Regions from separate parts of the Homo sapiens genome. Here all the other regions are linked to region 1. Evidence: promoter capture Hi-C in 16 types of primary human blood cells and fetal thymus (Javierre and others, 2016). All regions are on one chromosome and are shown on one strand. The core of a region is centred on a gene start or on the middle of the fragment in contact, and the rest is flanking DNA. Distances in the headings are between cores, read along the strand shown.

The links. The method cuts DNA at HindIII sites, captures the fragments that hold promoters and counts their contacts. A CHiCAGO score of 5 or more calls a contact.
Region 2: a fragment that was not itself captured here is called in contact with the fragment with the promoter of RAB39B in region 1 in 1 of 17 cell types (erythroblasts); the score reaches 5.6 in erythroblasts.
Region 3: a fragment that was not itself captured here is called in contact with the fragment with the promoter of RAB39B in region 1 in 1 of 17 cell types (neutrophils); the score reaches 5.7 in neutrophils.

Annotation. Positions count from the first base shown.
Region 1 is chrX:155,263,147-155,266,010 of GRCh38, forward strand. RAB39B (RAB39B, member RAS oncogene family) reads right to left here and starts at 1,345. Exons shown (of 2, transcript NM_171998.4): 1 at 928-1,345. The coding sequence starts at 1,142. RefSeq lists silencers at 1,123-1,332, 1,343-1,392. The HindIII fragment of the contact is 10,241 bases long and covers 1-2,864 here.
Region 2 is chrX:155,652,701-155,655,564 of GRCh38, forward strand. All of the region lies in intron 1 of SPRY3 (sprouty RTK signaling antagonist 3), which reads left to right. Among named protein-coding and RNA genes, the nearest start is that of TMLHE, 41 kb to the left of the region's middle. The HindIII fragment of the contact is 2,567 bases long and covers 83-2,649 here.
Region 3 is chrX:155,625,921-155,628,784 of GRCh38, forward strand. The region is part of intron 1 of SPRY3 (sprouty RTK signaling antagonist 3); the gene reads left to right. Among named protein-coding and RNA genes, the nearest start is that of TMLHE, 14 kb to the left of the region's middle. The HindIII fragment of the contact is 6,921 bases long and covers 1-2,864 here.

The sequences.
Region 1 (2,864 bases), core at 95-2,594:
TCTTTATTCATGCTGTTTCCTATCCCTGGGCGTTTCCTGTCTTTGCTTAGGCAGTCATACTCATCCGGTCTCATCTTCTCCAGTTAACCTTTCCTCCTCTGTGTTCATACATATAATTACAAATAATACATGCTACAATAGAAAAGCAAAGGGTTCTGAGTGAAAGTAAACATATTCATTGATTATTCAATGAATTCATTGATTGAAATTAAGCATGTTCATTTTGTGCCAAGTGTTACAGTAGGGAGTGGGCATACAAATATGAGCAAGACACACTTTCGTAATTGCTGATTATCTATTTCCCTCAACTATGTTAGCACAGAAGTTCCAAGAATGAAGGGGCTTTGTCTGTTTAGATTACATGGCATCCCCTTGTGTGAGTCTCCTCACACTGTTTTCCCAGGAACAAGCCCAGAGTCTGGCACATAGTAGATGATCACTGAATGTGTGCTGGTTGCAAGAAGGAATCAATCGTATCTATTTCATGTTAGAACATATGTTAGCATATATATGTGCACACACACAGATGTGGAAATAAAACATAATACACATGTATTTATGTATTTAAATCTCTGTCAGTTATGTTAGGATGACCTGGGAACGTTTTTGAAAGTATGTAACATAGGGACTGAGATTGATGAATTACAGATACAGAGATCAATTCCAGCTAGTTTGTTAGCCACCAAAGGGCAGGTTGGTGGAGTTGTGGTGCAAGCAATATGTGTTATTGACCGGCCTTCCCTGCCAGGGCGCTTCTTTCCTTGCACTAAACTCCGGGTTAGCCGAAGGTGGGCTTCGGCAGAATCCTCAAGACCCTTGGTGTTGCCCTCCTGGACCGCACCTAGAACCAGGAAGTCCTCTCTCCCCAGAGGCGGTGCAAACCCCGAAGACCCTCCCACTGCTTGCGGGCCCGGACTGCGCTCCCACCTGAACCTCTCTTGACCCGCGGTATCCCAGATCTGGAGCTTGATGCGTTTTCCTGGCTCGATCTCCACCAAGCGGGAGAAAAAATCCACCCCCACGGTGGGGTCAGAAACCTGGGCAAAGCGACCCTCGGTGAAGCGGCGGATCAGGCAGGACTTGCCCACTGTGGAATCCCCGATGACAATGAGCCGGAACTGGTACAGCCAGATGGCCTCCATGGCCGCGGCTCTGCAGGTCTCCTTGGCCCGGACCGGGGACGGCGGGAGGGGGCGCCCCGCCGACGCCTCAGAGAGCGCGGCTCGGCAGGATCTAGCTCAGCCGCGAGCGCATCGCTGGCCTGGGAGCCCGAAGCTGGGTAGGCCCAGGCGCCGGGAGAGCGGAGGGATGGATGCTGCGCTCGCAAAGGTGATGAAATGGCAGCAGCATCAGCACCACGCACTCTGACTCATCACTGACAACCGGGTTACTGTAATCCCCCGCGTAGACGCGACGCCTGGGCCGCCGCACTATCTGTAAGAGGAGCGCACACAAAATGGCTGCAACATTAGCGCGATCCCTCCCTTTCTAACTACCCCACCCACCCTCTGTTCATTAAAACTGTTCTCTGTCGTTCAAACTGCCAATGTCATACCTTTTCATTGAAACTAGCAAAGCAATACAAAACTGCACAAAAAAGGGAAGGCACATAATTATATATTAGTCTACAAGTGTTTCCATGCTCACATAAACACACAAATATTATATGTGTTTGTATTCCTATATGCATTTATTGCTGTTTGTTTTTACAAAAATTAAACTGGGGCCTTACTTTCAATTAATAATTGCTTTTTGCAATTAATAAAGCAACATAAATATCTTTCCATTTCCACCTAATTTCCCTTTTGTCATAACTTATTTTAAAGTGTAGCCACAAGTATTTTATTTCTGTGAGCTACAGTCTTAAAAAAGGGGCCATGAATTCAAAGAGTATAAGTATTTTAAATTTAACGGACATGGGCATTCTACTTTCCAAAACTATTTAACAGTTTAAATTCTACCCAGCAATGTGTGAAAAGACCATCGCTCTGCATTATTTCAAGCATCATATGTATGTTTTATTCTTTCTTAATTCTTCTCAATAGAATTTAGTTAAATAAAAATATGTCTCATTGCTTTATTTTTACATTTCTCTGACTACTGATGAGGTCAATACCAAGTCTTGTGTATTGACCATTTCATTTCCTCTTCTGGGAATTGTCTCTTCATATCCTTTGTATTTTTTATGTGTAATTTTATTTTATTTTTTTTTTGAGACAGAGTCTCTCTCTGTCGCCCAGGCTGGAGTGCAGTGGCGCGATCTCGGCCCACTGCAACCTCTACCTCCCGGGTTCATGCCATTCTCCTGCCTCAGCCTCCCGAGTAGGTGGGACTACAGGTGCCCGCCACCACGCCCGGCTAATTTTTTGTATTTTTAGTAGAGATAAGGTTACACTGTATTAGCCAGGATGGTCTCGATCTCCTGACCTTGTGATCTGCCCGCCTCGGCCTCCCAAAGTGCTGGGATTACAGGCGTGAGCCACCGCGCCCGGCCTTCTATGTGTAATCTTTTATCGTTGCCTTACTCTTTAAAAAAAATCAGCTTCATTAACATGAAAATTCACATACTGTACAATTCACCCATTTAAAGTGAACAATTCTTAGCATAGGTTTTTAATATACTCACAGATATATACAACTATCACCACAGTTAATTTTATAACATTTTTATCACTTCAAAAAGTAACCCAGAGGGGTGGGGGGAGGGGGGAGGGATAGCATTAGGAGGGATTACATTTACCTAATGTAAATGTAAATGACGAGTTAATGGGTGCAGCACACCAACATGGCACACGTATACATATGTAACAAACCTGCACGTTCTGCACAGGTACCCTAGAACTAAAAGTATAATAAAATATGTA
Region 2 (2,864 bases), core at 116-2,615, 390 kb after region 1:
TTTGGTTGGATATTTGTTTTTGAGTCTCTTGAGTAAATATCTTGGAGTGGAATTGCTGGATGATATAGTAACTTTATGTGTAAGCTTTTGAGTAACTTCCAGAATGTTTTTTGCCATGATTGCACAATTTTAAATTCTCGTTGATGGTTCAGTTTATCTACATTCTCACCAACATTTGTTATTTTCTGCCATTATTGTTATTATTAGCATCCTAATGGGTGTGAAGTGATATCTAATTGTTGTTTTGATTTGCATTTCCCCAGTGATTAATATTGAGCCTCTTTTCATGTGCTTACTGGCCATTTGCATATCTCCTTTAGAGAAATGTCTATTCAAGTCATTTGCTCATTTTTAAATTGGGTTGCTTTTCTCATTATTATTGAGTTGTAGGAGTTACTCATATATTCTGAACACTAGATCCTTATCTAGTTATCAGATATATGGACCCTTATCTAGTTATCAGATATATGATTTGCAAATATGTTCTCTCATTCTGTCTTTTCACCTCTTAATAATGTCTTTTGATGCACTAAGGTTTTGAATTTTGATGAAGTCCATTTTATGGTTTTTAAAATTTTGTTACTTGTGCTTTTGGTGCCATATCTAAGAAACCATTGCCTGATTCAACATCATGATTTATTCCCAAGTTTTCTTCTAATATTGGTACAGTTTTAGCTCTTATATTTAGGTCTTTGAACTATTTTGAGTTAATTTTTATACATAATGTTAGGTAAAGGTCCAACTTCATTCTTTTGCATGTGGATATCCAGTTTTCCCAGAACCATTTGTTGAAGAGACTGTTCTTTCCCCATTGTATGGTCTTGGCATCCTGGTTGAAAATCAATTATACATAGATGTTTGGGTTTATTTCTGGATTCTCAATTCCATTTCAGTGATTTATAGATGCCATTGTCTATCCTTATGCTAGTGCCACATTGTTTGGATTACTGTAGTGTTATAATAAGTTTTGAAATTGGAAAGTGTGAGTCTTCCAACTTTTTATTTTGTTTTCTAAATTGATTTGGCTACTTGGACTCATTGCAATTCCATATGAATTTTAGTATTGTCATTTCCATATCTATAGAAAAGGTTATTGGGACTTTACATATAATAGGAAAACCAACTGTTTTTCCTACTCTCATGCTTAGCACAGACCACTTCTGGTCACCAAATTACATATGGGGATTTCTCCACACCAACAATCTATTCTCCTGTGGACACCCACTTGGTGTCCTATAATTAAATTAAATTATGACACCATCTGCCTGGAAACAATGTCAGATCCCACAGGTTAAGGGCTCAACCCTGCAATACTGTGTATATTCAGATGCCAGTTATAAGTAGTAGCTTGTCACCTATACTTCTGACAACTAGCTATAAATCAGGATTCCTTTGACCTTTCCCTCAGTTTAGATTAATTTGCTAATATGGCTCATAAAACTGAGTCTATATATTTAAAGTGGGTTTGTTGTAGACAACATGTAGTTGGATTTTATTAAAAACCTACATTGGCAATCTTTTTTTGAATTGGTGCATTTAGATCATTTATATTTAAAGTGGTTATTGATTTTTAAAATGTATATCTACCATATTTGGTAACTATTTTCTGTTGCTTTTTACATTTTTAAAATTTTTATAGATTTAGGAGATAGAAGTGCCATATTTTTGTTATGTGGATATATTACATAATGATAAAGTCTGGATTTTTGGTTTACTCATCACCTGAATAGTGGCTCTTATATCCTTAGGTAATTTTTCAACCCTCACCCCCTCCTACTATCCCACCTTTTAGAATCTCCAGTGTCTACTATTTCACTCTGTATGTCCATGTGTACTCATTTTTACTTCCCACTTACAAGTGAGAACATGCAGTTTTCAACTTTCTGTTTCTGAGCTACTTCACTTAGGATAATGACCTCCAGTTCCATCCATGCAACTGCAAAAGACATGATTTCATTCTTTCTTATGGCTGCATAGTATTCCATGGTGTGTGTGTGTGTGTGTGTGTGTGTGTGTGTGTGTGTGTGTGTGTGTATAATATAAAATCTTCTTTATCTAATCATCTGTTTATGCACACTTAGGTTGATTCCATGACTTTGCTATTGTGAATAGTGCTGCAATAAACATATAAGTGCAAGTATCCTTTTAATTAATGATTTCTTTTCCATTGGGTAGATACTCAATAGTGAGATTGCTAGATTGAATGGTAGTTCTATTTTTCGTTCTTTGAGAATCCCCACACTGTTTTCTGTAGAGGTTGTATTAATTTACATTTCCATCAACAATGTATAAGCATACCCTTTCCTCTAAATCCTTGCCAACATCTGTTGTTTTTTTGACTTTTTAGTAATAGCCATTCTGACTGGTATACAATGATATCTCATTGGGGTTTTAATTTGCATTTCTCTGATGATTAGTGATGTTGAGCATGATTTCATATATTTGTTGGCTGTACGTCTTCTTTTGAAAAATGTCTGTTGTGTCCTTTGGCCATTTTTAATGGGGTTATTTGGGATTTTTTTCTTGTTGAGTTGTTTGAGTTTCTTGTAGATTCTGGATATTAGCCTTTTGTTAGATGCATAGTTTGAAAATATTTTCTTCCATTCTATAGGTTTTCTGTTTACTCTGCTGATTCTTTTGCTGTGCAGAAGCTTTTTAGTTTCATTCCCATTTGTCTATTTTTTGTTTTGTTTCATTTGATTTTGGGGACTTAGTCATAAATTCTTTGTCTATGCCAAAGTCTAAAGAGTTTTCATAGGTGTTCTTCTAGGATTTTTTATAGTTTAAGGTCTTAAATTTAAGTATTTACTCCGTTTTGAGTTAATTTTTGTATATGGTGAGAGATATGGGTCCAGGTTCATTCT
Region 3 (2,864 bases), core at 171-2,670, 360 kb after region 1:
TTATATGGATAAACCACATTTTGTTTCTTTTTATTGGTTGATATGCATTTGTGTTGTTTCTACTTTTGGCTTTTGTGAGTAATTCCACTATGAACATTCATATACAAGATATTTTGTGTAAATACATTCTCATTTTTCTAGGGATGGAATTGCTGGATTATATGGTAATTCTATGTTTAACCAATTGAGGAACTGCCACACTATTTTCCACAATGGCTACACAATTTTACATTCTTACTGGCAACGTATGAGGTCTCCAATTTATCCACATCCTCTCCAACACTCATTTTAGTTGATTTCCTTATTATTATTGTAACTATCCTAGAGGAGGTGAAGTGGTATCACATTATAGTTTAGATTTTTATTTCTCTAGGGACTAATGATGTTGAGCTTCTTTTTATTTGCTTATTGTTCATTTGAATATGTTATTTGGAGGAATACCTATGCAAATCCTTAGCCCAGTTTTAAATTGGCTTATTTTTCATTTTATTGTTGAGTTGTAAGAGCATTTTACATATTCTAGATACAAGATCTTGTCAGATATATGATTTGCAAAATTTTTTCCCATCTGTGAGTAGTCTTTTCACTGTCCTGATGGTGTCTTTTGAAGCATACTAGTTTTTAATTTTGATGTTGTTGAATTTATCTATTTTCGCCTTTTGTTGCTTGTACTTTTGGTGTTATATCTAAGAAACTACTACCCAAACTATAGTCATAAGGAGTTACATCTATGTTTCTTCTAAGAGTTTTATATTTTAGCTCTTACATTTATATCTTTGATACATTTTTAGTTAATTTTTATATATGATGAGATGTAAGGGTTCAACTTCATTCTTTTATACTGTCGGCATGTTTTCAGTGTCCTGTTTTTTTAGCCAAAAATTACCACGTAAGTAAGTGTTCCCTCAGTTCAATTATCTCAACTCAATATGACCTGAGAAAGCATTAGAATTTGATAGGGAGCAGAGGTTTCAAATCATTCTACCCCAAAGCTCCTTCATCTGAAGCCAGAGCTGGTATATCTTTCTTTTGTTAAAATGACAGATAAAATTATATGTATTTATTGTGTATAGTATGATGTTTTGAAGGATATATACATTGTGGAATGGTAAAATCTACATAATTAACAAAAGTGCATTATCACACATAGTTATCATATTCGTAGTGAGAATGCAACATCCAATCTCTTAGCTATTTTTCAAGAATACAACATATTGTTATTAACTATAGTCACCATACTGTACGATAGAACTTATTCCTCCTATTTAACTGTAATTTTCTATTCTTTAACCAACATCTCTCCACCTGCCCCCTGTAACCAACCACCCTGCCCTCTAGGTAGCCACCATTCTATTCTACTTTAATGAGATTAACTTGTGGATTTCACACGCATGAGATCATGCAGTATTTGTCTTTCTGTGCCTGGCTTATTTCACCTAACATAATGTCCTCCAGGTTCATCCATGCTGTGACAAATAACATGATTTCCTTTTTTATGGCTAAATAATATTCCAAAGTGGTACTGGAATAATATTTCAAGTGGTATATATGCCACTTTTTAAATCCATGCACTCATTGATGGACACTTAGTTTTATTCCATATCTTGGCTATTGTGAATAGTGCTGCGATAAACATGGGTATGCAGATATCTCTTTGACATACTGATTACATTTTCTTTGGATATATACCCAATAGTGGGATTGCTGGATCATAAGCTAGTTCTTTTTTAATTTTTTTAATTTAATTTAATTTTAAGTTCTGAGATACATGTGCAGAACGTGCAGGTTTGTTACATAGGTAAATGTGTGCCATGGTGGTTTGCTGCACCTATCAACCCATCATCTAGGTATTAAGCCCCACATGTATTATCTATTTATCCTGATGCTCTCCCTCCCACCCCCCAACAGGCCCGTTATGTATTGTTCCCTTCCCTGTGTCCATGTGTTCTCATTGTTCAGCTCCCACCGTGATTGAGAACATGCAGTGTTTGATTTTCTGTTCCTGTGTTAGTTTGCTGAAGATGATGACTTCCAGCTTCATCCATGTCCCTGCAAAGGACATGATCTCATTCCTTTTTATGGCTGCATAGTATTCCATGGTGTATATGTACCACATTTTCTTTATACGGTCTATCATTGATGGGCATTTGGGTTGATTCTATGTGTTTGCTATTGTGAATAGTGCTGCACTGAACATACACGTACACGTATCTTTATAACAGAATGATTTGTATTCCTTTGAGTATATACCCAGTAATGGGATTATTGGGTCAAATGGTATTTCTGGTTCTAGCTCCTTGAGGAATTGCCACACCGTCTCCCACAATGGTTGAACTAATTTACATTCCCGCCAACAGTGTAAAAGTGTTCCTATTTCTCCAAGCAATTGCAACAAAGGCAAAAATTAACAAGTGGGGTCTAATTAAACTAAAGAGCTTCTGCACAGGAAAAGAAACTATCATCAGAGCGAACAGGCAACCTAAGAATGTGAGAAAACTTTTGCAATCTACCCATCTGACAAAGGTCTAATATCCAGAATTTACAAGGAACTTAAACAAATTTACAAGAAAAAAATAAAAAAGTGGTCAAAGGACATGAACAGACACTTCTCAAAAGGAGATATTTACGTGGCCAACAAACATATGAAAAAAATCTCAACATCACTGATCATTAGAGAAATGCAAATCAAAACCACAATGAAATACCATCCCACACCAGTCAGAATGGTGATTATTAAAGGGTCAAGAAACAACAGATGCTGGCAAGGCTTTTTTAAATTTTTTGAGGAACCTCTGTATTATTTTCCATAGTTAGTATACTAATTTACCTTCCCACCAACAGTGTGCCAGGGTTTCCTTTTTTCC